Regions from separate parts of the Homo sapiens genome. Here regions 2, 3, 4, 5, 6 and 7 are each linked to region 1. Evidence: promoter capture Hi-C in 16 types of primary human blood cells and fetal thymus (Javierre and others, 2016). All regions are on one chromosome and are shown on one strand. Each heading gives the region's core, a stretch centred on a gene start or on the middle of the fragment in contact. The rest is flanking DNA. Distances are from core to core; before and after follow the strand shown. Region 1 holds the start of ZNF500 (zinc finger protein 500). Region 2 holds the start of TFAP4 (transcription factor AP-4). Region 3 overlaps CORO7-PAM16 (CORO7-PAM16 readthrough). Region 4 overlaps DNAJA3 (DnaJ heat shock protein family (Hsp40) member A3). Region 5 holds the start of ALG1 (ALG1 chitobiosyldiphosphodolichol beta-mannosyltransferase). Region 6 overlaps HMOX2 (heme oxygenase 2). Region 7 overlaps HMOX2 (heme oxygenase 2).

What was found. The method cuts DNA at HindIII sites, captures the fragments that hold promoters and counts their contacts. A CHiCAGO score of 5 or more calls a contact.
Region 2: the fragment with the promoter of TFAP4 here is called in contact with the fragment with the promoter of ZNF500 in region 1 in 1 of 17 cell types (fetal thymus); the score reaches 5.9 in fetal thymus.
Region 3: a fragment that was not itself captured here is called in contact with the fragment with the promoter of ZNF500 in region 1 in 1 of 17 cell types (naive CD8 T cells); the score reaches 5.8 in naive CD8 T cells.
Region 4: a fragment that was not itself captured here is called in contact with the fragment with the promoter of ZNF500 in region 1 in 3 of 17 cell types (neutrophils, fetal thymus and monocytes); the score reaches 5.9 in neutrophils.
Region 5: the fragment with the promoter of ALG1 here is called in contact with the fragment with the promoter of ZNF500 in region 1 in 1 of 17 cell types (activated CD4 T cells); the score reaches 5.6 in activated CD4 T cells.
Region 6: a fragment that was not itself captured here is called in contact with the fragment with the promoter of ZNF500 in region 1 in 7 of 17 cell types (erythroblasts, neutrophils, monocytes and 4 more); the score reaches 8.7 in erythroblasts.
Region 7: a fragment that was not itself captured here is called in contact with the fragment with the promoter of ZNF500 in region 1 in 2 of 17 cell types (M1 macrophages and erythroblasts); the score reaches 5.3 in M1 macrophages.

The regions. Positions count from the first base shown.
Region 1 is chr16:4,765,912-4,770,158 of GRCh38, reverse strand. It overlaps ZNF500 (zinc finger protein 500), which reads left to right and starts at 2,997. Exons shown (of 6, transcript NM_021646.4): 1 at 2,997-3,142; 2 at 4,083-4,247. The coding sequence starts at 4,181. RefSeq lists an enhancer at 1,679-1,758 and a silencer at 2,951-3,250. The HindIII fragment of the contact is 2,671 bases long and covers 514-3,184 here.
Region 2 is chr16:4,271,090-4,275,336 of GRCh38, reverse strand. It overlaps TFAP4 (transcription factor AP-4), which reads left to right and starts at 2,314. Exons shown (of 7, transcript NM_003223.3): 1 at 2,314-2,679. The coding sequence starts at 2,591. RefSeq lists silencers at 1,370-2,019, 2,740-2,789, 3,150-3,309 and enhancers at 1,168-2,143, 2,440-2,489, 3,390-3,579, 3,121-4,097. The HindIII fragment of the contact is 8,835 bases long and covers 1-3,728 here.
Region 3 is chr16:4,343,719-4,347,965 of GRCh38, reverse strand. The region is part of intron 27 of CORO7-PAM16 (CORO7-PAM16 readthrough); the gene reads left to right. All of the region lies in intron 1 of PAM16 (presequence translocase associated motor 16), which reads left to right. Among named protein-coding and RNA genes, the nearest start is that of PAM16, 5.5 kb to the left of the region's middle. RefSeq lists an enhancer at 117-617 and a silencer at 2,832-3,032. The HindIII fragment of the contact is 3,035 bases long and covers 1,480-4,247 here.
Region 4 is chr16:4,427,362-4,431,608 of GRCh38, reverse strand. All of the region lies in intron 1 of DNAJA3 (DnaJ heat shock protein family (Hsp40) member A3), which reads right to left. Among named protein-coding and RNA genes, the nearest start is that of DNAJA3, 3.6 kb to the right of the region's middle. The HindIII fragment of the contact is 1,791 bases long and covers 1,224-3,014 here.
Region 5 is chr16:5,068,851-5,073,097 of GRCh38, reverse strand. ALG1 (ALG1 chitobiosyldiphosphodolichol beta-mannosyltransferase) reads right to left here and starts at 1,255. Exons shown (of 13, transcript NM_019109.5): 1 at 1,041-1,255; 2 at 70-147. The coding sequence starts at 1,248. RefSeq lists enhancers at 796-855, 1,026-1,135, 1,166-1,225. The HindIII fragment of the contact is 10,202 bases long and covers 1-3,290 here.
Region 6 is chr16:4,478,718-4,482,964 of GRCh38, reverse strand. The region is part of intron 1 of HMOX2 (heme oxygenase 2); the gene reads right to left. LOC124903636 (a long non-coding RNA gene) reads left to right here. Exons shown (of 3, transcript XR_007064964.1): 2 at 1,086-1,201; 3 at 3,404-3,701. Among named protein-coding and RNA genes, the nearest start is that of HMOX2, 4.4 kb to the right of the region's middle. The HindIII fragment of the contact is 5,105 bases long and covers 1-4,247 here.
Region 7 is chr16:4,496,584-4,500,830 of GRCh38, reverse strand. The region is part of intron 1 of HMOX2 (heme oxygenase 2); the gene reads right to left. Among named protein-coding and RNA genes, the nearest start is that of HMOX2, 22 kb to the right of the region's middle. RefSeq lists a silencer at 229-523. The HindIII fragment of the contact is 2,942 bases long and covers 720-3,661 here.

The sequences.
Region 1 (4,247 bases), core at 1,748-4,247:
ACCGCATACATGTCTCTAAATCATATGTAGAATTGTTTTGCATTTTCAAAATTTATGAAAATTGTATCATATTGCCACTTGCCTTTTTTTGTTTGGCATAGCCTCCGTGAGATTTATCCATCATTCTCCTGTTGACTAACATTTAGACTGTTTTCGGTTTTGCCATTACAAACAACACTGCCCTGAACACAGAGGTAGTCTTTATTACTAACAGAATTAGGACATATTAAGCCTATATGTGTCTGACGTTCTGTTCTGTCTCTTTACCATAATGGTGCCTACTGCAGGTGATGTTACCATCCCCATTGTACAAAGGAGTTATCCTTGTCTCCCTCCTCCACCCCAAGCTAATCAACCACCAAGCACTGTTGAATGTGCTCCAGGAATCTTGGCCAGATCCTTGTCAGTGACTACCACCATCACTAGTTACCCCAACTCTGGACCACTCCAGGAGCTTCCAGCTAGTCTCACTGCTCCTCTCCAGTCTTTCTGAGATCTGTACTCCACAAAGCTTCTTATCTGATCACGATGCTATCCTACTTAAAACCCCAAACTCTATTGACTCCAAGGATAAAATCCTTAATCCTCACCAGAGTCTCCAAGTATGGTCAGGCCTTGCCCATCCCTCCAGCCACATCTCCCAATCTCTGGTCTCCATTCTGTTCCTCAAACGCACCGTGTTCTCTCCGGCCCCAGGACCTTTGCACTTTTCACTCCTGCTGTCTGGAATCCTCCCCACCGGTTCCCCAGGTTAACCCTAGGCTGCTCAACTGTCACTTCCACCCTGAAGGTATCAGGTTCCCTCTTTTACGCCGCTTGCTAACATTTGCCAAAGAAGTGATTAAACAATTCTTCGTGCAATTTTGTCCACTGTATGCCTCTCATGGTAATTTTGTCCACTGTATGCCTCTCATGGCAAGCTCCATGAAAGCAGGCACCTGCCACCACTCCATCACCCGAGCGCCTAGTTAAGGGGGCAGTTGGGAGGACTCAACGTGCAGCGTTTATGCATTTATTATGCCTGGATGAATGGTCTTGAATGAGTTACAACCTTGAGGGTTAATGTCCCCCATTAACAGATATGGAAACTGAGGTTCAGGGCGCGCAAGGGAACCGCCCGCAGTCTCGACGACAAGGACGCTGCCACCGGGAGACTGCAGCCCCTTCCTCCGAGCCCCTGGCAGTGCCGCCACTTGAGGAGACCCTCCAGGCCGCCAACCCACCCCCTCTAGAGCGCCCAGGAATCTGCCTCCGGGGAGGGCGCGGGGCGCTCTGGGAAATGTAGTCCTGCCAGCTTCCTGAATCCGGCGTCCCCAAATTTGTTTCCGGCGGGCTGAGTCCTAGCCGATGCTTTGGGAAAGACGCGCGAGATTCCGGGGGTAGATCCGGGATGCGAGGCGGGGCGCGCATGCGGGGCGGAGCTTGTGCGGGGCGGGGCGTACGTTGAGTGTACGCCTGCTGTGTATGCTGCGTTGCTGCTCACCCGAACTCGGTGCTGGGACTCTTTCCTGGGCACCCCAGGCAGAGGGAAACTCCGGATCATGTTCAACCAAAGAGGAAAAGCAGCGAGAATCCAGCATAGGAGACGGGCCTTAGGATGCCCAAGTTAGGATTAGGGGCAAACTACGTTAACCTGGTAGTTAGGAGCTGAAGTTCTGGAATCAAAGATTTGGGTTCCAATCCCATTTCTGTACTTCCTGTTTGACCTTCTCTGGGGGGTTCAATACTTAAAACTCTCAGAGCTTCAGGGTTTTGTTTTGTTTTGTTGAACCGGTAGGTCTAGTTATAGTACCTCTATTACTAAATGAGGAAGAAACGAAGTACAAATGTGTTTTGCTTGCTTGATGCTCAAGAATTGATGCGACCGGGAGCGGTGGCTTACTCCTGTAATCTCAGCACTTTGGGAGGCTGACGTGGGTGGATTGCTTGAGGCCGTTGGAGACCAGCCTGGGCAACATGGGGAAACCCCATCTCTACTAAAAATACAAAAATTAGCCGGACCTGGTGGTTCGTGCCTGTAATCCCAACTATTCGGGAGGTTAGGTAGGAGAATTGCTTAAAACCGGGCGGCGGAGGTTGCTGTGAGCCAAGGTCGAGCCACTGCACTCTAGCCTGGGCGACAGAGTGAGACCCTGTCTCTAAATAAATAAATACATACATACAAGAATTGATACCTGGCTGGGCACACCTGTAATCCTGACACTTTGGGAAGCTGAGGCGGGAAGATTGCTTGGGCCCAGGAGTTTGAGACCAGCCTAGGCACCATGGTGGGACTTCATCTCTAACAACAACAACAAAGATTGATGCCCATTATTATGTTGTCAGAAAGAAGCAGGCAGGACAAGGGATATTTGGGGTTGGACGTTGTTGGGGGCCCTCTTGGGGGAGGGTGGGCGCAAGCACTTGGCATCTCTTCCAGTTTTATCTTGAACAACTTCTGCCTTTATTTATTTTATTTATTTATTATTTATTTATTTATTTTTTGAGATGGAGTTTCGCTCTTGTTGCCCAGGCTGGAGGACAATGGCAGGATGTCGGCTCACTGCAACCTGCGCCTTAGCCTCCTGAGTAGCTAGGATTACAGGCATGAACCACCACGCCCAGGTTTCTCCACGTTAGTCAGGCTGGTCTCGAACTCCCGACCTCAGGTGATCCGCCCGCGTCGGCCTCCCAAAGTGCTAGGATTACAGGTGTGAGCCACCGTGCCCGGACGACTTTGCTGGCTTTAAAGATGGAGGAGGCGGCCAGAGGAGAGCGGAGCGGGTGTGGAACAGTGACTGGGAAAGTAGCCCAGAGGCTGCAGAGTCGCCGCACGCTCGCGCGGTCACCGAGGTGCTGGACTACGTTACCCACAATGCGTGCCTTTGAGGACCACATTAACCACAGTGCACGTCGCGGACCCGCCCACTCGGCCGTGTTGCCACGCCCCCAACGGCCGGCTTAGCCAATGGTGCCACGGCTACGTTACCCACAATGCCGCCTGCGGGCCCACCCGCACGGCCTGGTTTGCACCCCTGGTTTAGGGTCTTCGGCCCCGGCTCTGGCGTCCCTGGCTGCCAAGCCTGAGGCCCGCAGTCCTACTCCCGCCGAGACCCGCCGCTCCGGTCCTGCCCCGAACTGCCCACGGCCGGCAGCGCTTCCAGTGAGTGCGGGGGGCGCGGGGACGCGGGTCCCGGCCGAAGCTTCGATTTCGCGGCCCGCGCCAGCACCCGGGTCTGTGCCGCGGCCTCGGGTACCGCTCACCCTCCACCTGAGGGATGAGACGGGAAAGCAGCCCGGCCTGGGGGTCCCAGCTCTCCCAGGACCCTGGAATTGGGGGGCTGTCGTGACCACCCACGCGGGGGTGCCTGACGGGGCCGCGTAGGGGCTTCAGGGTTCGCCAGACCTGGACACCGGGGATCAAGTTGAGGCAGAGTCTGCAGAAAGGCCCTACTTTTCATCAGATTTCCAAAGGAACCCCTTCCATATAGGACCCACTCTAATCATGGAAAATAACGATTCTCGAGCTCTGACCGCAAACATCCCTTTTAGATTGTTTTTGTTTGAGTCTCTCTCTGTCGCCCAGGCTGGAGTGCAGTGGCGCTATCTCAGTTCACTGCAACCTCCATCTCCCGGGTTCAAGCGATTCTCCTGTCTCAGCCTCCCGAGTTGCTGGGATTACAGATGTGCTACCACCATGTCGGGCTAATTTTTGTATTTTTTGTAGAGACAGGGTTCCACCACGTTGACCAGGTGGTCAACTCCTGAACTCACGTGATCTGCCCTCCTCTGCCTCCCAAAGTGCGGGGATTACAGGCGTCAGCTACTGCCCCCAGCCATCCCTTTTAGTTCTGTCAGCAACCTGTGTGTGTAGGTCCTGTTATCATCTCTGTTTGCCCAGTGAGGAAGCAAAGCCCAGAGCCCTTCAGTAAATTACCCGGGAATTAACAGGGGGTTAATAACAAAGATGACATTCATCCACTTCCTTTTCCTTTTCCATGGTGGGGTGAGCTGGCCTTGGAACCAGGGCAGGGGCTTCCCAGGCCAAAGGGCTTATCCAGCCCCAGGGCTGCCCTTCAGATGGTTTTATCGTCTCTCCACAGGGCCCTGAAAAAAACTCTCTTCCTGTGTCTGGCCAGAGGTATAGAGAGAGACAGGTTCAACTCTAAGGCCTGAAAAGGAACAAGGCCCACCGGAAGCAATGGCCACTGTCCCTGGCCTCCAGCCCCTGCCAACCTTGGAGCAGGACCTGGAACAGGAAGAGATCC
Region 2 (4,247 bases), core at 1,065-3,564, 490 kb after region 1:
GCCAGCACTCCTGAGTGCATTCTTGTCTGCAGCTGTGAGCTTCTGTCTTCCCATGTGCAAAATGAGAGGATAAGGAGACAGTAATGCACCAGAATAGCTTGCTCACTGCTGGGTGAGGTGGCTGATGCCTGTAATCCTGGCACTTTGGGGGACCGGGGTGGGCAGATCGCCTGAGGTCAGGAGTTTGAGACCAGCCTGGCCAACAGGGCAAAATCCCATCTGTACTAAAAATACAAAAATTAGCCGGGCTTGGTGGTGTGTGCCTGTAACCACAGCTACTTGGGAGGCTGAGGCAGAAGAATCACTTGAACCCAGGAGGCGGAGGTTGCAGTGAGCCGAGATCGTGCCACTGCACTCTAGCCTGGGTGACAAAGCAAGACTCCGTCTTAAAAAACAAAACAAAACAAAACAAAAAAAAGAATAGCTTGCTCACTAAGGGCAGTTAAAAATAGGCTTCCCACCAGGGCCATCCATGGCTCATGCTTGTAATCCCAGCAATTTGGGAGGTAGAGGTAGGATTCCTTGAGTCCCAGGAGTTCAAGACCAGGCTGGGCAACACAGTGAGACTCCTATCTCTATTTGTTGAAAAACAGTAAAAAGGTTTTTTTTTTTTTTTTTTTTTGAGACGGAGTTTCACTCTTGTTGCCCAGGCTGGAGTGCAATGACATGATCTTGGCTCACTGCAACCTCCACCTCCCGGGTTCAAGCGATTCTCCTGCTTCAGCCTCCCGAGTAGCTGAGATTACAGGCATGTGCCACCAGGCCCCCGGCTAATTTTGCATTTTTAGTAGAGACGGGGTTTCTCCATGTTGGTCAGGCTGGTCTCGAACTCCCGACCTCAGGTGATCCACCCGCCTCAGCCTCCCAAAGTGCTGAGATTACAGGCGTGAGCCAACGCGCCCAGCCGAAAGTTTTTTTTTTTTTTTTTTTTTTTTAAGTAGAAACATAGTAAGCCTTCCAGAGACTTTTTTTTGGTCAAGTGGTCTGGGATCTCTCCTTAGAGAAACTGCCTAACAGGTTGCTTCAAGGATTGGAGAGCGTGTAAGCAAAACTGCTCGGCATCCACCGGGTGCTGGCAACATCTAATAACAATATTTCCCAATAATAACAGTAACTATTGTTACTAGTAGGAATAAGTCAAATTAGGAGGCGCGATTTAGGCGGAACCTGGAAGGCGGTGGGCAGGATCCAGGACATTCCAAGGCAGGCGTGGGCTTCCTGAGCCAGGAGCCAACCCTCCAGGAGCCAGGGGAGGGCCTGGGGCCGGAAGGTGCGGCGTGCGAGCGGAGGACGGAAGCTCGCCGCCAGGGTCCCCGTCCCTGCCCCAAGTCGTCACCCCCTCTTGGGGAGCGCATCCTGGCGGAGGGGCAAGTCCCACACGGGCTTTGTTATGAATGGGAAGCTGCAGCCTTCAGCCCGCGGAGGGAACAGTGCGGGTCTGGGGGAATAGCAGGGGACCCGGCAGCAACCAGCAGACCTCCCCGCAGCGCTGGCAGCCTGCGCCCGGGGGCCGCTGCCGTTCAGGCCCGCCTCCACCCTCCCCTCCCTGCCGGGGCCCCCGGCTTCCTAGGGCGGCCCCAGCATCCGAGGCGCCCTTTGCCGTCCCGTCGCCGGGTCCAAGATTCCCAGGATCCGGAGTCCCGGCCGTGCGGCCAGCTAAGCAAGGCGGGAGGGAGGAAGCTGGCCGGCCTCCGAAGTCAGCCCCGAGTTACATGTGGGAAGCGGTGGCTGTGACGCAAGTTTCCAGGGGGCCCTGGGCTCGGCTCGAAGGGAGCACACCGGAGAGGCTCCGCTCCGTGCAGCTGCAATGGTGAAAAAGCAGAAGCCCCAAGCGCGAACCCCAGGCCGCCTTCCTTGCTGCCGCTGCACGCCCGACCCAGCCGCGCCCCCTCCTCCCTGCGGGCCGGCCGAGCGCGCGGACCCTGCTCTGGGCCAGTCGCTGCTGGACTCCGGGCTGCACGGGCTGGGCTCCCTGCGCGGTGGCTGGCCTTTTTTTTTTTTTTTTTGCAACGCTTGCCAACCTGTCAGCTGATGGACCTCATCACCCATAGTGGCGCATGTAGCTCGGCCGCAGCTCGCTCCATTCACGCCGCGCCCCGCAAGCCCGCCCGCGGCCCCCGGCCCCCTGCGCCCCGCGAGAGGCCTGCAGACCCCGGTTGCAGCCGGTCCCCGGGGGCCCGCGCCCCTCTCGCCCCGGCCTCGCGCCGCCCGGGGGGCGCTGCAAATAGTCCTTTGTTTACATGCAATTCCTTACTCCGCGGAAGGAGGCCGGGGGAGTGCTGAGTTTTCACCAGCTGTTTCCCGCCTTGAAACAGACATCTGATCAGCTGCAAACACACACACACACACACACACACACACACACACACACACACACACACATACACACGCCCGGGGAGGCAGGCCGGAGAGACCTCCCTCCCGCCCCTCCCGCCCGCCTCCCTCCCCTCGCCGCCGCCGCCGCCGCCAGCATCTGGGACCGGCCGATTCTGCACCTCCGTCCGGCGCTGCCCTTTGATTCGGATTTCCATCTTGCATTCTCCGGCTGATCGCGGGACCTGGCTCGTGCAGAGGAGGGGGGCCGATCGCTATGGAGTATTTCATGGTGCCCACTCAGAAGGTGCCCTCTTTGCAACATTTCAGGAAAACAGAGAAAGAAGTGATAGGAGGGCTCTGTAGGTGTGTACTCCTCCTCCCCCCACCCCCTTCCTACCACTGCAGCCCCCGGCCAGCCCGCCCGGGCGGGCGCGCGTGTGCGCACGCATGGCCCGCGCCGCCGACCCCGCTAGCCTTTCTTAGCTGCCGGGACGGCTGCAGCCCCACACGCCGGGTCCGCGCCGCCCCGGGACCCTCCTTCCTTGGAGCATGGGGGCCCCAAGCGGCCCCGGCCACTTTTGTCCGCTGCAGGCGGGCGAGTCGCGACGTTTGTAAATTGCAAACAGACCCACGTGGTTCTGCAGCAGTCCCGGCCATGCTTGGTGCTGGTGGCCTTCCCCCCCGCGCTTCCTCTTTCCCCCTCCTGCGGCGGCTTCCTTCCTCTCCTTCCTTCCTCGGGATCTGAGGTCGTCCCCATCCAAGGGGGTCTGGGGGCCCGGGGCGCGCGTGGGGGTGTAGCTAGGGCGGCTACAATGCAGCCATGCCGCGGCTCCCGGCGCGGGGTGGGGGCGGGGAGCCGGGCACTGTGCGTGTTTGCAGAGCGGGGCTGCAGCGGGGTCGGGGGCGTGCTCGCGTGTGGGTGTTGGGGGTGGGCGGACCCCGAGGGGCCCGCGCGGCCGGTAGGGGCGCCGCGGCCCGGGGCACGTTGGCTGCCGCTCGCTCGCCCGCCCGCGCCCGGGCGCTGTTTACTAGCGAGGCCTGGACGTGACTCTGCAGCCCTCTTGGAGTAGGCGGACCTCTGCGCGCGGCCTCGCGGGAGCTGTAGTTCTCCGTGTCCTGCTGGTGCAGCATTGTGGGATTTGTAGGCGCTCCTGGGCCACGCTTTCCCTGCACAAAGCTCGGCCCCCGCGGGCACGATGGGCAAGGCAGGCCAGGTGGGCAGGCCATTTGGGGAAGGGACACCTGAGGCCGCCCCTAGCCTCGCAGGGCAGCTTCCCGCCGCACGTGGGTTTCCTCTGCAAACTTTCCCATCCAACGCCCCTCCCCCCTGCCGTAAACCGAAAGCGTCGGGTCCCCCAGCCGGGTGGGTGGCCCGAGGTCCGCAGGCCTCCCCAGAAGCCACTTTGCAAGCTTTGGTCCTAGGTTGCTCTAAACCCAAAGGGTGATGGACTCAAGGACCACACACAGCCAAACCACCCCGCACACTTCTTAAAATGCACATGCCTGGAACTCTGATCGCTGGGGCCCGGACATCTGCATTTTGAACGACCCCCTGGGCGTGGTGTGGGGGAGGTGGGCGTTCTACGGCGTGCGCAAGTTTGGGACCTGTGGCCCCTTTCCTGCCGCGCTGCTCCAGGAGCGAAATGGCTCCCCAGGGCTGGAGCCACGTGCTCTGCCGCCCGAGGCAGTCTGGGCGGGGATTGAGGGAGGAGGAGCCCGCCGGTGTGGCACAGGCTGGTGGACGCTAGCGCCTGCAGAATCCGGCCTGGAGGGAAGGTTGCTGCACACGTGTAGACACTCCTGCCCAACCCTCTGCCCCGGGGGTCCCCACCTTAAGGCTACTCTGAAGTTCCCAGTCAATACCTAGACTTGGGCCAGTTGATGGGTTTGGCAGCTGGCAGGGATGCCCCGAGGGCTGGCCCTTGCACGAG
Region 3 (4,247 bases), core at 1,748-4,247, 420 kb after region 1:
CCCACAGCACTGTCTGTGGTCCCAGCTGCTGGGATCTGGTCCTGCCTTGGGCCAGGTTGCTGCCCAACAACGAAGTGCACATGCTGCCCCCACGCATGCCAGGATTGGATCCTGTGCTTCTGACTGCTGCTCTCTGACAGCCGCGTGGCCTGAAGTTGGATGCCAAGTCAGCTGGGTCCTCTCACCTGGGACCCTCAGGCCCAAGTGTCAGTCGGTGGACTATGGGATGTTTGGAGCCTCTGGGAGGGGCCTCAGGCAGTGGTTGTTTTGGTCACCCATGGTAGCCACAGCTGGCAGAGCTCTGCTCCCTGTGAATGAGCTCTGAACTCAGCCTGACCCATGGCAGAAGCTCAGGGGATGTTGGGGTACTGGATAGGTGGATGAGGGGCTTGCCTGCACCGCCTAGTTCTGGACCTGCCGCTGTTTGTCCATGTGGTGTTAATGGGCATTGCCTCCTGAGGGCCTTACTGTCCTCTTGTGAGGAGGGTGTTATTCTCTCCATCTTGCAGTTAAGAAAACTGAGGTAGGCTGGGCACAGTAGCTCACACCTGTAATCCTAGCACTTTGGGAAGCCGAGGAGGGCAGTTCATGCGAACCTAGGAGTTCAAGACCAGCCTGGGCAACATGGCGAAACCCCATCTCTCCAGAAAAGTACATTTAGCCAAATGTGGTGGCGTGTGCTCAGCCTCCAGAAGTTATGAAATTTCCACCTACTTGTGAAATCCTAACCCACTTGTGTTTGTTCATTCCCCTAATGGCCCATATCACATCCCGCCTGTTAAGGAAAGAGCAGGTCCTCGGAGGCTGAGTACAAGTAGCTCCAGCTACTCGGGAGGCTTAAGCAGGAGAATCTCTTGAGGCTGGGAGGCTGAGGCTGCAAGTGAGCCATGATTGCACCACTGCACTCCAGCCTGGACGACAGAGTTAGACTCTGCTTCCAAAAAAAAGGCCAGGTGTGGTGTCTCATGCCTGTAATCCCAGCACTTTGGGAGGCCGAGGCGGGTGGATCACCTGAGGTCAGGAGTTTGAGACCAGCCTGACCAACATGGTGAAACCTCGTCTCTATTAAAAATACAAAATTAGCTAGGCTTGGTTGTGTTCACCTGTAATCCCAGTTACTTGGGAGGGTGAGGCAGGAGGATCGTTTGAACTGGTGAGGTGGAGGTTGCAATGAGCCGAGATTGAACCACTGCACTCTAGCCTGGGTGACAGAGCGAGAGTCAGTCTCAAAAAAATAAATAAAAAATAAAAGACCCAAACCAAAACAAAAAAAGATTCAGAGAGGTTGAGTAATTTGTCCAGGGTCACACAGCTATTGAGAAAGAAAGCTAGGGTTCTGGTCCCAGGTCAACGTGGTTCTCGTTCTGCTTCCTTGCTGCTTCCCAGCTCCCTGAGGGAATGTAGTATGGTGTTTTGCAGCCTTCACCCCTGAGGAAGCAAAGGGCCTGTATCAAATGAGCTGCTATTTTGAAAGAAGCTTTGTTACTTCATAGTGCCTGGTCATTGTCAGATTTTGTGAAACAGTAGTAATGAATGAAAACCAATGTTTATTGAGCACCTGCTGTACCATTAGGCTGTGTGCCAGGCATTTGACAGGCATTATCTCAGCTTTATTGGTGGCCACATTTTACAGGTAAGCAAACTGGGTTGCTCAAAGGAGTTGAGAACGTGTCTATGTCAGATAGCTGGGATTTTTGCACACAGGTGATCCCAAAGCCTGCAGGTGTAACCATTACACTACACTGCGTCTTCTCAGAGATGCCTCCTATAGGAACCTTGCTGGCCTCAATGGGCCGTCCAGTCTGCTGAAACTTTGCAGGCCAGCCCCCCTCTGCCCTGCAGCTCTAGGCAGCTGAAGCCACAGGCCACCACGCCGCTTTGGTTTGAAGTGTGCAGGGGATGGTCGGGGAAGCTCCCCAGTTATGACCTCAGCTCTTACCGTTCATTATTTTGCAACAGTCATTGGCCTTGGCAGAAAAGTAAACAAGTGATTGCAAGGCTGTACGATGGCAGCAGAGGGACCGAAGGCTGTTGGTGTGAGGGGTAGTCTGAGACCTGAGCCGTGTTTCAAGCCGAGGGGACCCTCTGACTTTCACCTCTGTCCTTCAGACAGCACCAGCATCCCATCCCTGAGCCTCCTGTTCCACTCGGGAGGGGCTTTAGGAAGGAGGCGAAGTCAGGTGAGACCGCAGGTGTCATCAGGTGCATCCCTGACCCTCCCTCATCTGCAGTACAGCCACAGCCCTGCCCCTCGCTGTGATCACAGGAGGGTCTTCTCTGGGCTCTTTCTGCTGTGAAATCCAGAAGTTATGAAGTTTCCACCTACTTTTGAAATCTTAACCCACTTGTTTGTTCATTCCCCTAATGGCCCATAATGACATCCCACCTGTTAAGGAAAGAGCAGGTCCTCGGAGGCTGAACAAGGCCAGCTCTGGAGTCGAATCCACTGGAATCTGGAGCAAGCCCCTCTGGCCTCGGGGTTGGGTTCTTGATACTTGTCGGCTTGCCCAGGTGCCCTACCTTCAGACCCCGGGACCCTGCGTAGTGACTGCTGTGACAGATAGCACCAGCCTTGGGTTTCCGATCTGCCTCCGAGGCACCTGCTGTTACGTCCTCGGGCCAGTCAGCAGTCCCCCACCCCTGAGTTGTCAGAATTAAACGGCACAATGAATTGAACGTGTTTGGCACCGTGCCTGGTGTGTGGACTCAGTTGATACTTGTTGACTGAAGGCAAATCTACAGAAAAGCACTAGGAAGAAAGGGAAAGTCACTCGGCTGTGCCACATGAGCTTTCAACCTATGCCGAGCTGCCTCCAGCCCGCGCCACCCCCCTGCGTCTACGGCTTTGCAGTCACAAGATCCTTTGTATGTGCTGTCTATATATAATCGCTTTGTTTCACAAAGATCTGTGCATCTTTCCATGTCATCCGCCAGATTCCCAGTCTTTCCCAGGCCAGCCTAGGCTATTGGCTGCTCGCAGGAACTCCCTTCTGCCTTCTCTCCTGCCAGTTTTGGCTCAACCCAGTCCCTCTGCCTAGAAAGCCCTAGTATTTCCATCATGATTCTTCCTACCCTGCAAAGCCCAGCCCAGGAGGAACCCCCTCCTCTCACGGAACCCCCTCCTCTCACAGAACCCCCTCCTCTCACACAATCCCCTCCTCTCACACAATCCCCTCCTCTCACAGAACCCCCTCCTCTCACGGAACCCCCTCCTCTCACAGAACCCCCTCCTCTCACGGAACCCCCTCCTCTCACGGAACCCCCTTCTCTCACGGAACCCCCTCCTCTCACAGAACCCCCTCCTCTCACGGAACCCCCTCCTCTCACGGAACCCCCTCCTCTCACAGAACCCCCCCTCACACAATCCCCTCCTCTCACGGAACCCCCTCCTCTCACAGAACCCCCTCCTCTCACGGAACCCCCTCCTCTCACACAGTCCCCTTCTCTCACAGAACCCCCTCCTCTCACAGAACCCCCTCCTCTCACAGAACCCCCTCCTCTCACACAGTCCCCTCCTCTCAGAGAACCCCCTCCTGTCACACAGTCCCCTCCTCTCACAGAACCCCCTCCTCTCACACAGAACCCCCTCCTCTCACACAGAACCCCCTCTTCTCACACAGAACCCCCTCCTCTCACGGAACCCCCTCCTCTCACAGAACCCCCTCCTCTCACACAGAACCCCCTCCTCTCACAGAACCCCCTCCTCTCACGGAACCCCCTCCTCTCACGGAACCCCCTCCTCTCACGGAACGCCCTCCTCTCACACAGAACCCCCTCCTCTCACCGAATCCCATCTCAGTCTTGAGTTTTCCCTCGACTCTGTTGCTTCCGCTCACATCTTAGTGAGTCCCCAGGGCCTCTGCGGGGCATGGAATCACACGTGCAGTGTTCCGGCATGTTCAGCCTGGTGTGTGACAGTGGGGTTCCCTGCCAGGCCAGCAGTGTGCTCTGACTCGGGGCAGGGACCAGGTTCTGTGTAGCTTTGTGCTCAAGTGCTGAGCAGAGTAGACTCTCAGCAGATGTTTGAATGAATGGGTGAACCAATGGCTGCACAAATGAACGAGCCTGACTCTCCCTCATGATTTGGTCCATAGTGTGTTTAAATACCCTCCTAGTGGGCTTTTAGCTCCTTGAAGATGGAAACAGGTTTGCATAGTAAGTTTGTTTTATTGAATGGAATGGACTTAAAGTCTTCGGACTTGGGAGAATTAGGACAGATCTGTTTCCCCGTTGGTAAAGTAAAGGTT
Region 4 (4,247 bases), core at 870-3,369, 340 kb after region 1:
AAGACTCCACCTGAAAAAAAAAAAAGAGAAACAACTCTAGGAAGCCTGGGAGACTACTCGAAGTTAATCAGCACAAAACACAACCAGAGGTTGGTTGAGCACATCCAAGTAGGAGGCCAGGTAAAGGATGATCAGACAGGAGAATGGATAGGAATGGTCAGGATACTTAAAATTAGAAATAGGAAATAAATCCGTGTGTTTGGCACACCCAATATCCTCGGGATACAAAAAGCACACTGGAAGTAGTAGGGGTCAGGAGACCACTTTGTGTTTCTTCAGTCAGACTTGAGAAAACACTAGACCTGACTTATTATTGAACTTGTACTCAACCCTCTTTTTATTTCGGAGTAAGGGGTTGCCCGGCCCAGTCCAGCCTCTCTCTCACCACTCATTCCAATGCCACAAGGCGGAGGCTGGTAGTGACCTGTGGCAGCTGTGGCTTCAACATTACGGGCAGAGAACACGGACAGGAGTTAGTACAGAGATAGTAACGCACAAAACTGCATGTGGATAAAGACAAATCACGTTTAATTACAAGACTGATGGCTTTGTTTTTTCTTTTTTTGAGACAGAGTCTCACTCTGTCACCCAGGCTGGAGTGCAGTGGTGTGATCTCGGTTCACTGCAACCTCCATCTCCCAGGTTCGAGCGATTCTTCTGCTTTAGCCTCTCAAGTAGCCAGGACTATAGGCGCACACCACCACACCTGGCTAATTTTTGTATTTTTAGTAGGTAAGAAGTTTCACCATGTTGGCCAGGCTGGTCTCGAACTCCTGACCTCAAGTGATCCGCCGGCCTCATCCTACCAAAGTGCTGGGGTTACAGGCATGAGCCACCATCCCCAGTCTGATGACTTTTGACATTATCCATAGGGCATCAATGATTAACAATAATTAGATTTCATTTAATAGACTATTTATTTTATCACATATGACCAGTAAATGTCCTGTCCTTTTTAGAACAACCCAGAATAAAATAAGCCTCCAAGTCGTTCTAAGAATGGCCAACCCACTGTCCAACAACTGCTTTCTTTTTTTTTTTTTTTGACAGGGAGTTTGGCTCTTGTTGCCCAGGCTGGAGGGCAGTGGCGCGATCTCGGCTCACTGCAACCTCTGCCTCCTGGGTTCAAGCGATTCTCCTGTCTCAGCCTCCCGAGTAGCTGGGATTACAGGAACCCGCCACCACGCCTGACCAACTTTTTCTATTTTTAGTAGAGACAAGCTTTGGCCATCTTGGCCAGGCTGGTCTCAAACTCCTGACCTCAGGCGATCAACCCACCTCCCAAAGTAATGGGATTGCAGGCATGAGCCACCATACCTGGCCACCAACAACTGCTTTCTTTCTGCTTGGAAGAAAAGTCACATCTAAAATGTTGTTATGTCATCTTACTACTAGATTTGAGACAAGATCACAGACTAGTGTTTGGACGCTGAGTTAATGACCTTTTCAAAATTTTTTTTTTTAAGAGACAGGGGTCTCATTATGTTGCCTAGGCCAAATTCAAATTCCTGGACTCCAGCAATCCTCCCACCTCAACCTCCTGAGTAGCTAGGACTATAGAGGCTCGCCACCACATGGCTTCTCAGTTGATGACTTTATTAATTTTTTGGTAGAGAAAGAGTCATACTCTGTTGCCCAGGCTGGAGTGCAGTGGCATCATCATGGCTCACTGCAGCCTCAACCTTCTGGGCTCAAGTGAAACTCCCACCTCAGCCTCCCAAGCAGCTGGGAGTACAGGCAGTTGCCACCATAGTTGGCTAATTTTTTTTTTTTTGAGACACAGTTTCGCTCTTGTTGATCAGGCTGGAGTGCAATGGCGCTAACTCGGCTCACGGCAACCTCCGACTTTCACGTTCAAGCAATTCTCCTGCCCCAGCCTCCCGAGTACCCGGGTTTACAGGCATGCGCCACCAGGCCTGGCTAATTTTGTATTTTTTGTAGAGACGGGGTTTCTCCATGTTGATCAGGCTGGTCTCAAACTCCTGACTTCAGGTGATCCGCCCGCATAGGCCTCCCAAAGTGCTGGGATTACAGGCGTGAGCCACCATGTCCGGCCACAGTCAGCTAATTTTTAAAAATCTTTTTGTAGGCCGGGCGCGGTGACTCACACCTGTAATCCCAGCACTTTAGGAGGCTGAGGTGGACAGATCATGGGTAAAGAGATCGAGACCATCCTGGCCAATATGGTGAAATCCAGTATCTGCTAAAAATACAAAAATTAACTGGGAGTGGTGGCACGTGCCTGTAGTCCCAGCTACTCAGGAGACTGAGGCAAGAGGATCACTTGAACCCAGGAAGCGGAGGATGCGGTGAGCCGAGATCACGGTGAGTCAAGATCATGGTGAGCCGAGATCGCACCACTGCACTCCAGCCTGGCTACAGAGCAAGACTCCGTCTCAAACAAACAAACAAAAAAAATCTTGGCCGGGCGCGGTGGCTCACACCTGTAATCCCAGCACTTTGGGAGGCGGAGGCGGGTGGATCACGAGGTCAGGAGATCGAGACGTCCTGGCTAACACAGTGAAACTCCATCTCTACTAAAAATACAAAAAATTAGCTGGGCGCGGTTGCAGGTGCCTGTAGTCCCAGCTACTCGGGAGGCTGAGGCAGGAGAATGGCCTGAACCCGGGAGGCGGAGTTTGCAGTGAGCCGAGATCGTGCCACTGCACTCCAGCCTGGGCGACAGAGTGAGACTCCGTCTCAAAAAAAAAAAAAAAAAAAAAAAATCTTTTTGTAGAGATGGGATCTGCCTATGTTGCCCAGGCTGGTCCCAAACTGCTAGGCTCATGTGATCCTCCTGCCTCAGCGCCAGCATAGCGCTGGAATTACAGTCGTGAGCCACCCCGCCCAACCAGTTGATGACTCTATCTGTGAAAACAGCACGTACCCTGAAGGATGCCACCTCTCACCTGTGTACACTACCTGATATAAAACTTGCCCATGGCAGGTTATGAGCTCACTTGGGGAACAAGACAGCTAACCGCAGTTCCTTAGTCACAGCTTCACACAAAGCTTAGTGTTTAGTGCCTGTTTCTCTCTTTCACATACACAATAATAACGAGTGCTCCCAAATTTGTACAGCTGGAACATGAACAAATTTGGCTTAATAAAACAAGTCACCTAAGGATTAATATTTGAATGAAAAGATGCAGCCAGATTCTATTTAAAACAACCTTGACATTAGAAAATGTTAGCAAGCTCTAAAAATGGCCACTTTTGCTCATGTTGAAAAATCTAGCCTGGCATGGTGGCACACACCTATAAGCCCAGCATCTTGGGAGGCTGAAGTGAGCCAGGATCACATCACTGCAATTTGGCCTGGGCAACAGAGCAAGAGTCCATCTCAAAATAAAAATAAGGCCGGTCGCGGTGGCTCAAGCCTGTAATTCCAGCACTTTGGGAGGCTGAGGCGGGTGGATCACAAGTTCAGGAGATCGAGACCATCTTGGCTAACACGGTGAAACCCTGTCTCTACTAAAAATACAAAAAATTAGCTGGGCGTGGTGGCGGGCGCCTGTAGTCCCAGCTACTCAGAAGGCTGAGGCAGGAGAATGGCGTGAACCCGGGAGGCGGAGCTTGCAGTGAGCTGAGATAGCGCCACTGCACTCCAGCCTGGGCAACACAGCGAGACTCCGTCTCAAAAAAAAAAAAAATTCATTCTGTTGGCCAGGTGCAGTGGCTGATGCCTGTAACCCCAGCACTTTGGGAAGCTGAAGCAAGGGAATCACTTTAGCCCAGCCTGGGTAACATGGTGAAACCCCATCTACAGAAAACTAGCTGGGTGTGGTGGTGCATGCCTGTAGTCCCAGCTACTCAGGAGGCTGAGGATGGAGGATCGATTGAACCTGGGAGGTCAAGGTTGCACTGAGTTGTAATTGTGCCTCTGCACCAGTCTGGGCAACAGGAGGCCCTGTCTTAAAAAATAATTAAATACATAAATAATCATTCTCTTAACCAAACACACATCCAATCTCTTTGTTCTCTGCCATCTCCTCAGTGCCCAGAACAGTGGCTGGCATACAATTGGCCTCAATTAACACCTGTGAATGAATGAATTTTCAGACAGGTGCTCGAAGGGGTTAAATAATACACCCCGCTCACAGACGCTGGGGAAGTTCACCCCTGAAGCCCAGGCTCTTTTCTTTACATTGCATGAAGTAACCACAATTACTGATACTTTAATGATTGTCTACTATGTAACTATTACAAACTGGATTGCAACAGGAAGTTAGTTGGTATAAATTATC
Region 5 (4,247 bases), core at 6-2,505, 300 kb before region 1:
CTTTTCAAACGAACACCCCCTGCCCCCAGCCCATGGATTCAGAGGATTCTGGAGTTGACGGCATCCTACCTGCAAGACTCTGAAGTTCTGTCAACCCCACAATCTGAATTCTGTTGTTCTGCAAGAGCTCATCATGGGGTTTGGAGTCTGAAAAATGAGAATGATCCCTTTAATGTACCAGAAGCAGCAATCTAAAGTCAGATAATCTCCCAACTCAGGCTGAATCACGGACAGTGTTTTGGAAAGTAAGATATTTCAAAACCTCTCTCTGCTCCTCACTAGCCAGAACAGAGAATGCGGCCAATTCTTGTTCAGATTGCTCTAGGAGGCACACAGAGATAGGGCCTGAATCTTACCTACCTTCACTTAACATGATGCCTGGCAAACAGTAGGTGCTCAATTAAACTAATCTAGATTGTCTGGATAGTGGAATTTTCCCACCACAGAGCCATCCCTAGGAAGTCCCACTCTACCCCATCACCCTAGGATAGCAGATTCTAAACAGGGATTAAAGGCAACTAGTGCTGTTCCCACTTCTTCCTGAGATGGGGTTGAGCTACCCTCTCAAGATACCAACGTGGAGAATAATGAGGGAGCAGACACCGCTGCCCTGCACACTGTGGGGAAAAGCTGGACATGAAGAACAAATGAAAACATCTGTCTGCAGAGCTCTGCGTTGAGGGATGAGGAATGAAATATCCTGTCAGCTCAGACATAGCCTGACAAGGGTAGCTGCACAGGGACGTAGCTACCAGCACTAGCCCTGGAGTTCCACGCACCTGGGTTCCACTTACTAGGAGAATTACGTGAGACCACGCAATGGATTCACTTAACACACTTCTGACACGTGGCAAGATTAACGCCGGCTATACCTAGAGACCCACCCAGGAAAGGCTGGGGCAGAACCGCTCGTCTAATCTCGGAGAGCTGCCCAAAGGCGGCGACTAAAGGAGCACTTCCGCCTCGACTCCCCGGGGCGGTTAGAACCGAGGATCAACGGCTGAGAGAGCATCGTCCCTCCCAGACCCTTGGCCACTCACTGCAGAACCCCAGGAGGGTCACCGAGAAGCCGTGCATGGCCAACGACAGCGCGTGGTACTGCATACGGGGGCTGCGGCCCACGTCGCCCAGCACCACCGCTACTACATGCCGGGCCGCCCGCCCCCGGCGCCAGCGCTTCCATCCTCCCAGCAGCAGCAGCGGCAGCAGCAGACACAGCGCCAGCAGGACCAAGCATGAGGCCGCCATCTTGGCTGGCCCGCAGCAGTCACGTGACCGCGCTTCCTCGCGCTGTGCGCAGCCGCAGACCGAGCCTCCGAAGTGGGCCGAGAGGGCGAGAAGTGGACGCGGTTCCCTAACAGGGGCCCGGGGAACCCCCAGGAGCCCCTCGGGGCCAAGAATTAGTAGTAGTAGGACACACGCACATACACCAGATTCCCTACACACCAGTGTATTTCCCCGACTAAAGTAAAGCTGTTACTGTATTGGGATCTAAGAACTCTCTTCAGGATTCAAAGATAATTTCAAAATATAGTGACACAAGAATTTGGATAAATTTCATCCTAACATTGATAAAGGAGCCAGATGCTGACGAGTACGAATTGTAGAGTTCCGTCTATGTAAATAAAAACCAGTCCTCGCTGTTAGAAGTTAGGGGCTGGTGGGTTCTGCTTCTGGATCTGGTGCTGGTAATGTGGGTGTGCTGCATTTGGGGCGGTACCTCAAGCAGCAGATTACCTGCCCATTTTCCAGGGTGTACATCACACTTAATAAAACATTTAAAAGGTAGAGAGGGGGAAGGACAAACAAGGAAGTAAACACCATCATGATTTTGCTTAAGTATCAATGGCTAGAAAGGAAATTTCCACAGTGACCCTCCAATTTCACCTCCCAAAGTAGCCATAGTGAGAGTTTAATGTGTGTCTCTGCGATGGCCTGTATTAGTCCGTTTTCATGCTGCTGATAAAGACATACCCGAGACTGAGCACTTTACATAAGAAAGAGGTTTCATGGACTTACAGGTCCACATGGCTGGGAAGGCCTCACCATCATGGCAGAAGGCAAGGAGGAGCAAGTCACCTCTTACATAGATGGCAGCAGGCAAAAAGAGAGCTTCTGCAGGAAAACTCCTTTTTATAAAACAATCAGGTCTCGTGAGGCTTATTCACTATCACGAGAACGGCACGGGAAACACCTGACCCCATGATTCAGTTACCTCCCACTGGGTCCCTTCCACACAACACATGGGAATTCAAGATGAGATTTGGGTGGGGACACAGCCAAACCGTATCATGACCTTTTTTCTTTGAAAGCGGTCCCTTGCAGAGAAACACCAAGAGCTCACTGGTGATGCTACCCCATTGCCTCCACTTGGGAGCTGCCGCAGAACCTGGAGAGCCACCACCCAGACCGTATTCAACAAACAAACAAGACTCCTCCCCTGATGAGGACCACAGGCAGCACCCACGGGACAGGGTAGCCCACATGGATGTGGCTCCCCAGTGTCCCTGGGCTCAGCTCAGGGCTTGGCACACTTTGCATCTGCTTTTCACAATTGCCCCATCACTCCCTTTCTATGGATTCAGAAGGGACAGCTCACGCCTTAAGCCAGACCTTGAAACCCGAGCTTTCAGAAGGAAAGGAAGGACGAGTAAGTATCTGCAGACAGCAGGGATGGGCATACAAACATGCTGGCAGCGGCATTTATCCTCCAGTTCCCAGCGAGGCCCCTGCCTCCAGGTTGCGTGTGCTGGGGTGGAGGCCTGTGACACATCGCCTGCCCAACTCTGTCGACGCTCTGTAATGGGACAGGTAGGGATCTGGGACCTCAGCCTCAGGACTCCTGGCTTTCCTGCTCCACCTCGGGCGAGTCACTCCCCATCAATTTGCTTTCTTCGTCTGTGAATTAAGGGAGGGGAACTTCAAGTCTTTGAGAGCCTGTCCTGCTCTGATGAGCTAAGAGGATAAAGACTATGGTGATGACAAACCAAAAGTAGATGCCTCCCTCTGGTAGGTGAACCTCCGTCGGGGAGGGAGTTGCCGTGGTGTCTCCTGGAGAGAGGGGACGGAGCCATCCCCAGCAGGGGGGCGGTTTCATAGCTGGGCCAGCCCACCTGTCCGGCTTTCTCACTTGGCATCCATTCCACATGAGATCCAGTCTTTCCAACAATCAAGAGGATATATGGATAAGTCACTCAATCTCCCTTGGAGCCTCAGATTTTGTTCAAGTTGACTGAGCACCCACTTGAGGGGTGATCAAGGATTAACAGAAGTAATGACAATGACAAGCTTCCCCTAGAACCTCTGTTCCCAGTGGTGCTCCCAAGGGGGCAAAAATGGCTCTTGGGGAGCAAAACATCCTTACCCTTTTTATGTATAAAGCACAGATAATGATACAATACACAAGCATGCAGTATATCTGCAGTATTAAAATTTTATGAAGGCTGAAAGCAGTGGCTCATGCCTGTAATCCCAGCACTTTGGGACGCTGAGGCGGAAGGATCACTTGAGCCCAGGAGTTCAAGACCAGCCTGGGCACCATAGTGAAACCCCATCTCTACAAAGAATACCCAAAAAATGGTGGTGGCGTGTGCCTATAGTCCCAGCTACTCGGGAGACTGAGGTGGGAAGATCACCTGAGCCCAGGGAGGTCGAGGCTGCAGTGAACCATGATCATACCACTGCACTCCAGCCTAAGTGACAAAGCGAGACCCTGTCTCAAAAAAATAAACAAGTAAAATAAAATTTCATGGGGCAGTACATAAGGAACCCTCATCTTCTGCCAGTGGGCACGTAAATGGCCCAGCCACTGTGGAAAACAGTCGTATGGTCCCTCATTAGGTTCAACATAGAATTATCACGTGACACAGCAATGGCATTCCCACGTATACACCCAGGAGAATGAAAAACAGGTTTTCGAACAAAAACTTGTAAACAAACATCAGTACTGTCCACAAGAATCAAATCATGGAAACAATCCAGAGGCTCATCAGTGGATGAGTGATGAACAGAATGCGGTCTGTCCACAGCTCCCACAGCCTCCCACCCGAGGTTTCCCAGGTGTCTCCTTGTTTGCTTGTTTGTTTGTTTGTTTTGAGATGGAGTCTCACTCTGTCGTCCAGGCTGGAGTGCAGGGGTGCCGTCTCGGCTCACTGCAACCTCCACCTCCCAGGTTCAAGTGATTCTCCTGCCTCAGCCTCCCTAGTAGCTGGGATTACAGCCCTGCACCATCACGCCTGGCTAAGTTT
Region 6 (4,247 bases), core at 1,171-3,670, 290 kb after region 1:
TCTGCCCCCAGGGTCCAAGCGATTTTCCTGCCTCAGCCTCCCTAGTGGCTGGGACTACAGGCATGCACGACCACACCCGGCTAATTTTTTTGTATTTTTACTAGAAATGGGGTTTCACCACATTGGTCAGGCTGGTCTCAAACTCCTGACCTCAGGTGATCTGCCCTCCTTGGCCTCCCAAAGTGCTGGGATTACAGGCATGAACCAGCACGCCCAGCCATCTGTATCCTTCTTAATATCCTTTAGAGTAAATTGGTAAATGTAAGTAAAGTGTTTTCCTGAGTTCTGTGACCCACTCTAGCAGATTAATCAAACTCGAGGAGGGATTGTCAGAACTTTCGATTTATAGCTAGTAGGTCAGAAGTATAGGTGACAATTTACTACTTGTGACTAGTGCCTCAAGTTGGGACAGTTTTGTGGGACTGAGCCCTCAATTGGTGGGATCTGACGCTATCTCCAGATAGAGTATCAGAATTTAACTGACTTAGAGGACACCGCACCGGTGTGTCTACTAGAGAATTGCTTGGTGTATGGGGAAACAACTCCCATATATCTGGTATCAGAAGTGTTGTGTTGAGTGACTGTGGGAACAGAGTAGAAAAAAGACTTTGGGTTTTTTTGCCTTTCTCAAATAACCAGAAGAGCCACAAGCAAAGACAGAAAAGCATAACCTACAGCAGCTAGTTTCTCAGAACAGCATATTTTTCCCCTTCTGGGTCCACTTGCCTTTTTATAAACACAAAAAGTCTTACAGAGCAGGACAAATATGACACTGAACACAGACATTTGAAAATTTTGCTGAGATTGACAAATTCTCAAGTATATGGTAGAGGAATGGAGTTTTTTAAGTTATTTTCTAATTACTGGGATACCTGCTATTACCAAGCCAACCGAAGGCCTGACTTTCCCTCTGCCTTCCTACATAAAAAGAAGAGAGTAAAGGTTTAATGTCTTCTAGGTAGAAGTTAGATGACCACCCAGGCCACACTTCACCAAGTTTGCTTTTTCATCTGCCGTCAAACACTACTATCCACACTCAGCTTTGCTCATTTATTCCTTCCCTTCTCCCTCCTGCCCTCCTCCAGACTGCCACAGAGATAGTTCAAGGTGACAATGGCTCCTCTGCAGCAGCACATAGCAGTCTTGCCAGACACAACAGCAGATCAAGTAACTACTGAAGATGATGGCTACACTTGGACAGGTGACATTACATTATCATCAACAAACATTTATCACCCTCTTGAGTACTGTGACTACAAAGAAAGATAAGATCTTGCTCTGCACGTCAAGTACCTTTCAATCTAGAGAGAGAGTTAGGTGGAAAAATAAAAAGATAACATAAGGTGTACCATTCTATAAATATTAATTGTGCAATACAGACAACTGTGCTAAAGATAGAGCTTTATGTACCCGACTTTCCAGAACAATTCTGATTTCAAATACCCTGTTCCACCCAATTCTTTCAGTACACCTGTATGCTCAATGACAGGTGTTTCGCATAAAAATTATGATCATCACAGCTACTTATGAGGCCAGCCAGTCAACTAGATTAACTAAAATCAGGATGGCATTATAATGCCAGATTGTTTTATTTTTTTCTTTTTTTTTTTTTTTTTGAGACGGAGTCTCGCTCTGTCTCCCAGGCTGGAGCGCAGTGGCGCGATCTCTGCTTACTGCAAGCTCCGCCTCCCGGGTTCCCGCCATTCTCCTGCCTCAGCCTCCCGAGTAGCCGGGACTACAGGCGCCCGCCACCATGCCCGGCTAATTTTTTTTGTATTTTTTAGTAGAGACGGGGTTTCACCGTGTTAGCCAGCATGGTCTCGATCTCCTGACCTCGTGATCCGCCCGCCTCCGCCTCCCAAAGTGCTGGGATTACAGGTGCGAGCCACCGCGCCCGGACCAGATTGTTTTAATCACACTAGTACCTTCTTGCAGCCTCAGCACAGTGCTTTAATAGTAGGCCCTCTATCTCAGACATGAAAACATGAGCAAAAGCAAAAATACGAGGCCTGGCCGGGCGCGGTGGCTCACGCCTGTAATCCCAATGCTTTGGGAGGCCGAGGTAGGTGGATCACCTGACATCAGAAGTTTGAGACCAGCCTGACTAACATGGTGAAACCCCGTCTCTACTAAAAATACAAAAAATTAGCCAGGCGTGGTGGCAGACGCCTATAATCCCAGCTTCTCCAGAGGCTGAGGCAGGAGAATCGCTTAAACCTGGGAGGTGGAAGTTGCAGTGAACCAAGGTCACACCACTGCACTCCAGCCTGGGTGACAAGAGTGAAACTCTGTCTCAAAAAAAAAAAAAAAAAATAGTAGGCCCTTAGCCGGGCACGGTCGCTCCACCTCTAATTCTAATTGGGAGGCCAAAGTGGGTGGACCACTTGAGGTCAGGAGTTTGAGACCAGCCTGGCCAGCATGGTGAAACCCCGTCTCTACTAAAAATACAAAAATTAACTGGGTGTGGTGGCACACACCTGTAATCCCAGCTACTAGGGAGGCTGAGGAAGGAGAATCACTTGAACCCAGGAGGCAGAGGTTGCAGTGAGCCGAGACGGCGCCACTGCACTCCAGCCCTGGTGACAGAGCAAGACTCTAAGGAAAAAAAAAAAAAAAAGGCCGGGTGCTGTGGCTCACGCCTGTAATACTAGCACTTTGGGAGGCCAAGGAGGGTGGTTCGCTTGAGGTCAGGAGCTGGAGACCAGCGTGGCCAACATGGCGAAACCCCATCTCTACCAAAAGTACAAAAATTAGCCAGGCATGGTGGTGCATGCCTGTAGTCCCAGTTACTTGGAAGGCTGAGGCAGGAGAACTGCTTGAACCCCAGAGGCAGAGATTGCAGTGAGCTCAGATCAGATCACTGTACTCCAGCCTGGGTGAAAGAGCCAGACTCTGTTTCAAAAAAATAAAAAATAAAAAATAAAAAAGCCGGGCGCAGCGACTCATGCCTATAACCCCAGCACTTTGGGAGGCCAAGGTGGACGGATCACCTGAGGTCAGGAGTAGGAGACCAGCCCGGCCAACATAGTGAAACCTCATCTCTACTAAAAATACAAAAATTAGCCAGGCATGGTGGCATACGCCTGTAATCCCAGCTACTCAGGAGACTGAGGCTGGAGAATCGCTTGAACCCAGGAGGCGGAGGTTGCAGTGAGCTGAGATTGTGCCACCACACTCCAGCCTGGGTGACAGAGCAAGACTGTCTCAAAAAAAAAAAAAAAAAAAAAAAAAAAAAAAATAGAATAAGAAAAAGGCAGGCTGGGTACAAGATACTAGTCTGTTATGCCATTCTTCCCCACAGCCTTTTTAAAGTTACTGAGAACTATGACAGTAATTAGGCCTATAATACTCCTGGGAAGGAAACGAATCTATCTGTGAAACAAAAATTAATTTTTTCCCTAAGCTGAGTGAAGAGAATATCCACTTTGTTGGCTTCTGACATACACACTGACAGCACAGTTCACCAGACAACAATCACTCTTCTGGCGTCCCTTTCCCCAGGTATTCTATTCGCTTACTGCTCTATCTTCCCTGCCAGTCCACTCCCTCCTCTTTCCAGCCTGTGCCTTAGACAAGGACCCCAAACAAGGATCACCTGGGAAACTCCAAAAAACAGATTCCTAGTCATAATCCCAATTTTACCAAAAAAGAAGCGTTTGGAAACCCCTTAGATCGACAAGCAGCATCCAAAGACACCAAAAACTTAGGCTCATCAAGTATTAACTTCCTGCCTCAGCCTCCCAAGTAGCTGAGATTACAGGTATGTGCTAGCATCCTACTTATTGTTCACTCTGATAGAATTTTTTTTTCTTTGAGATGAAGTTTTGCTCTTGTCGCCCAGGCTGGAGTGCAATGGCATGATCTTGGCTCACTGAAACCTCTGCCTCCCAGGTTCAAGCAATTCTCCTTGCTCAGCCTCCCGAGTAGCTGGGATTACAGGCTACTTTTTGCAAGGCTAATTTTTGTATTTTTAGTAGAGACGGGGTTTCACAATGTTAGCCAGGCTGGTCTCGAACTCCTGACCTCAGGTGATCCACCCGCCTTGGTCTCCCAAAGTGCTGGGATTACAGGCGTGAGCCACCGCACCCAGTCTAGGTCAAGTTTTTCATCTCTTTCCTTTCCAAGGAGTTAAAGCTGAATTTCAAATTTTACAGTGAAATACACAATTCTAATTTTCTTTCTTTCTTTTTTTTTTTTTTGAGATGCAGTTTTGCTCCTGTTGCCCAGGCTGGAATGCAGTGGCACAA
Region 7 (4,247 bases), core at 941-3,440, 270 kb after region 1:
AGGTTCCTTTAGACCAGCTCAGCAGATCCAGAACACTGTCTCAAAGCTTTTGCTCCTGCTAAATTGCTGGCATGAGGCACTACCAGGACTTCTGAGACAACGAAGATGGTAAATCCTCCTCCATGGAGACTAAGTCCAACAAATTTCAGGTCAGGTAACTCAGTGCATTGCTACCAGGTGGGAATATAATCTAAGGACTATATTATAATTCATTTCCCATCTGGTCATACAGAAAGGAACAATAAAGACTTCTTTGCCCTGGAGAAACCTGAACTGAAGGAAGAGAGCAGGTTGCTGAGCTCAGCCAGCACCGAGAGTAAGCAACAGCAGACTGACTCACTCCCTGGAATGAGAACAATTCTGCAGGCTTCTGACTCAATGAAATAGTGACACTTGACAGTGACCAGCTACTACACTGCATGAGATGCCCACAACATGAACTCGGGTTGTTACCCCACAAACACAGGGAGGCTAAGTGGCTGCTCAGAGACTTCTGCACTGGGACTCCACGAGTGCTCCCTCCCTGCTGAACACCTTGCAGTTGGGCATCAGGATTCTTACCATCACCCTGGATGGGGGTCCCCTGCCTGCTTCCTAGAAGGCTGTTTGCAGCTCAGAGCTCACTCCGATATAAAATTGCCACCATATTAATATGAGGTGATTACGCTTCAGCTTCCACAACTGACTGTCATCCTGTCTTCCCAGTTAAACCAAAAGCTTCCTACAAGAGAGATCCAGATTCCCTCAGATTCAGATCAGGGTCCAATATGACTTATAGGCCAGCACCCTGGGGAGCATCCAACCTGAGTTACAGCTGTTGCAAATACACAGATGGAGTTCCTACTGAGAAAGCCAGTTAAATAGAGGATTTGTGTGCCTGTGCCTGTGTGTGTAACAAGAAAATAACAGCTAAATTCTAAAATACCAAGTAAAGTAATACAAATTTTTAATTGGGTCCCATGTCTCTAAATTAACTGTATGAAATCTGTTTTGACTTCTCTTCAGATCTGACTTGACTCCTAAGTTTTTAACTGACAATTATATTTATGGGGTACAGTGTGATGTTTGGACACATGTATACATTGGGGAATAATTAAATCAGGGTTATTAACATATCCATCAGCTCACATGCTTATCATTTCTTTGTGGTGACAACTTTTAAAATCCACTCTTTTACCAATTTTGAAGTATACAATACTATTATAATATTAACCATATTAACTATAGTCACCATGCTGTAAGGCAGATCATCAGACCTTATTTCTCCTAACTGAAATTTTGTACCCTTTGATCAACATCTCCCCTTTCCACACCCACCCTTCCCTTCCCCCAGCCGCTGGTAACCAACATGTTACACTCTCCTTCTATAACTGACTTTTTCAGATTTCACATATAAGTGATATCATGCACCATTTGTCTTTCTTTCTTTGGCTTACTTCACTTAGCATAATGTCCTCTAGATGCATCCATGTAGTCACAAATGACAGAATTTCCTTCTTGTTTATGGTTGAGTAGTATTCCATCGTGCATAAATACCAGCTTTTAAAAATCCATTAATCCACTGTGTGCTGCGAAGACTAAGTGGGCTAACACGCATGAATGTTTGACAAAATGCAGCACCACCTCAAATATTGAGCTCTTACTGAGGAAGTCGCTGGTGAGAATGAGCAATTGGGTGATTGTTAAACACTGAGGAAGAACAAGAAATCCAGCAATTTCAGATAGTTCTGGGCAGGTCACACCTGAGGACTTCTGACTCAGACCTCATTCTCCAGCAGCGTCAGGAAATAGGAATATCTGCCCTTTCTAAGGTGAGCCACGTGAGCACTGGAGGCTAGAATACCCACATTGCAGATGCCACTGGAGATTGGCTGAGCCACATGTTTGGGGCAGCAGACAGAGCTCAATCAGTTCTAATCCAACAAGGCACGAGATAACAGAGACTTCTCAACACCCTGAAGAAGCCACATCATCTAGAACTACAGCTTCTGAGTTTATAGAATAAATGGCCTGAGGTCTCCTCTGAACTCTGGTACTACCATTCCTCAGGAAATGTTATACATAAGCCCTTTCATTTCAATCGCTGGGGGAATTCAATCCCACGGTTCACTGAACGGAAGAATAAATATTAACCTCTTGATAAAAGAGCAAATCCAGGCTGGGTGCAGTGGCTCACACCTATAATCCTGACACTTTGGGAGGCCAAGGTGGGAGGATCACCTAAGCCTAGGAGCTCAAGACTAGCCTGGGCAACACAGTCAGACCTTGTCTCTACGAAAAATAAAATAATTAGCCAGGCGTGGTGACACACACCTGTAGTCCCAACCACTCGGGAAACTGGGGCAAGAGGATCTTTTGACCCCAGGAGTTCAAGGATGCAGTGAACTATGATCACACCGTTGCACTCCAGCCTGGCAAGGGAGTGAGATGCAAAAAAAAAAAAAGAGCAAGTTAAGACTGAATCCAGCCGGGTGTGGTGGCTCATGTCTGTAATCCCAGCACTTTGGGAGGCCGAGCGGGTAGATCACCTGAGGTCAGGCATTCAAGACCAGCCTGGCCAACATGGCAAAACCCCATCTCTACTAAAAATATAAAAAAATTAGCCAGGTGTGGTGGTGTGTGACTCTAATCCCAAATACTTGGGAGGCTGAGGCACGAGAATTTCTGGAACCTAGGAGGTGGAGGTTGCAGTGAGCCGACAGTGCCACTGCGCTCCAGCCTGCACAACAGAGCAAGACTGTGTCTCAAAAAAAAAAAAAAAAAAAAAAAGACAATGAATCCTGGAAAAGTGGGGACTCTGGGGACACAAAGCACTTGAGTCAGATTACTAAATAAGCACTTGCGCATTTGGGCAAGAAGGCAGGCAAAAGCAAAACAACTGCAAACTAATTTAAAGGCATTAACCTCTTAAGTAACCTCAAAAACTGACAAGAGACCGGTTGTGGTAGCTCAAGCCTGTAATCTCTGCACTTTGGAACTCTGAGGCAGAAGGATCACTTGTGGCCAGGAGTTCAACACCATCCTGGGCAACAAAGTGAGACCCCCTCCATCTCAAAAAATACATTGAATAAAAAAGACAACTGAATAGCAGTTCAAGAAGTCCAAGACTTTTCTTGCAGGCTTTTTTACTGGAGAAGAGAAGTGTGCTCATCTCTAGCCATGTTCAAATACAACTGAGCAAGCAGTGAAGACAGACACCAAGGACAGAACCTGAGACACTGAAATGAGTTCAAAGAAGGGGCCTGGAATCGACTATTGTTGGGACAATGATGAGTCCTGGTAGAGCCTTCCTATTATAACTGAAATAAGCACAAGACTCGCCCCTGTTCCCTGATTGCCACCTCGCTTTATATGAGGACAATGTGTCCCAGGGCTGAGAAGATGAGGATTCTTTAGTTCCATAAGCAGCACCAGGAGCGGGAGGGGTGAAGTCCTGAGTGAATTCTAAAATGGTTCTGGTGGGATTTTTACAGGGACAGAGGCTAGACTTCATGCATCCCACAGGGCTGGCTTTAACTAATGAAACCTTGGGTCATCCCTAGGTTACCATCAAGCAAAAATTATTCCAACACTGAACAACCTTGAAAGCAGGTGTCGTGTGGATAAGTGGAGTCAGTCATGTTTCCTTTCATACAGGCACAAAAATTGTCACCTGTAAGCTTCAGCTTCTATCATAAACAAGGACTGTGAATAGCATTTGGGGGTGGAGGGAAAAAAAGTAGGTGATTAAGATGCATATGCAGAACTGTCATTTTGGGAAACCTGAGAGTGCCATCAGCTCCCAGGTGCTTTCCTCTCTATAAACAGCCTGAAGCCTTAGAAGCCATTCCTGGAGGCTGGTACTGGTAGCTCACACCTATAATCTCTGTACTTTGGGAGGCCGAGGCTGAAGGATCACTTGAGTCCAGGAGTTTGAGACCAGCCTAGGAAACATAGTGAGACCCCCCGTCTCTACAAAAAAAAAAATAATAATAAAATAATTTTTTTTTAAAAGAAGCCATTCCTGCCTTGGCAGAAGGCCCTCAAGTTCACCCAAGAGAGCACCAGACTATAAGTCTGACAGACCTGGGTATACCAGGCTAAGTCACTTTCAAGCAATGTCTCACTGGCTCTGAAGAAACTAAGATCAAGAGAATTAACATGGGCAAGATCACTCAGAGAGCTAATGGTCAAGTTGAGACTAAACTTGAGTCATTCTGAATGCAAGGTGACTCCTCCTGTGTCCCTGGCTAATCCTCATTGGTTCC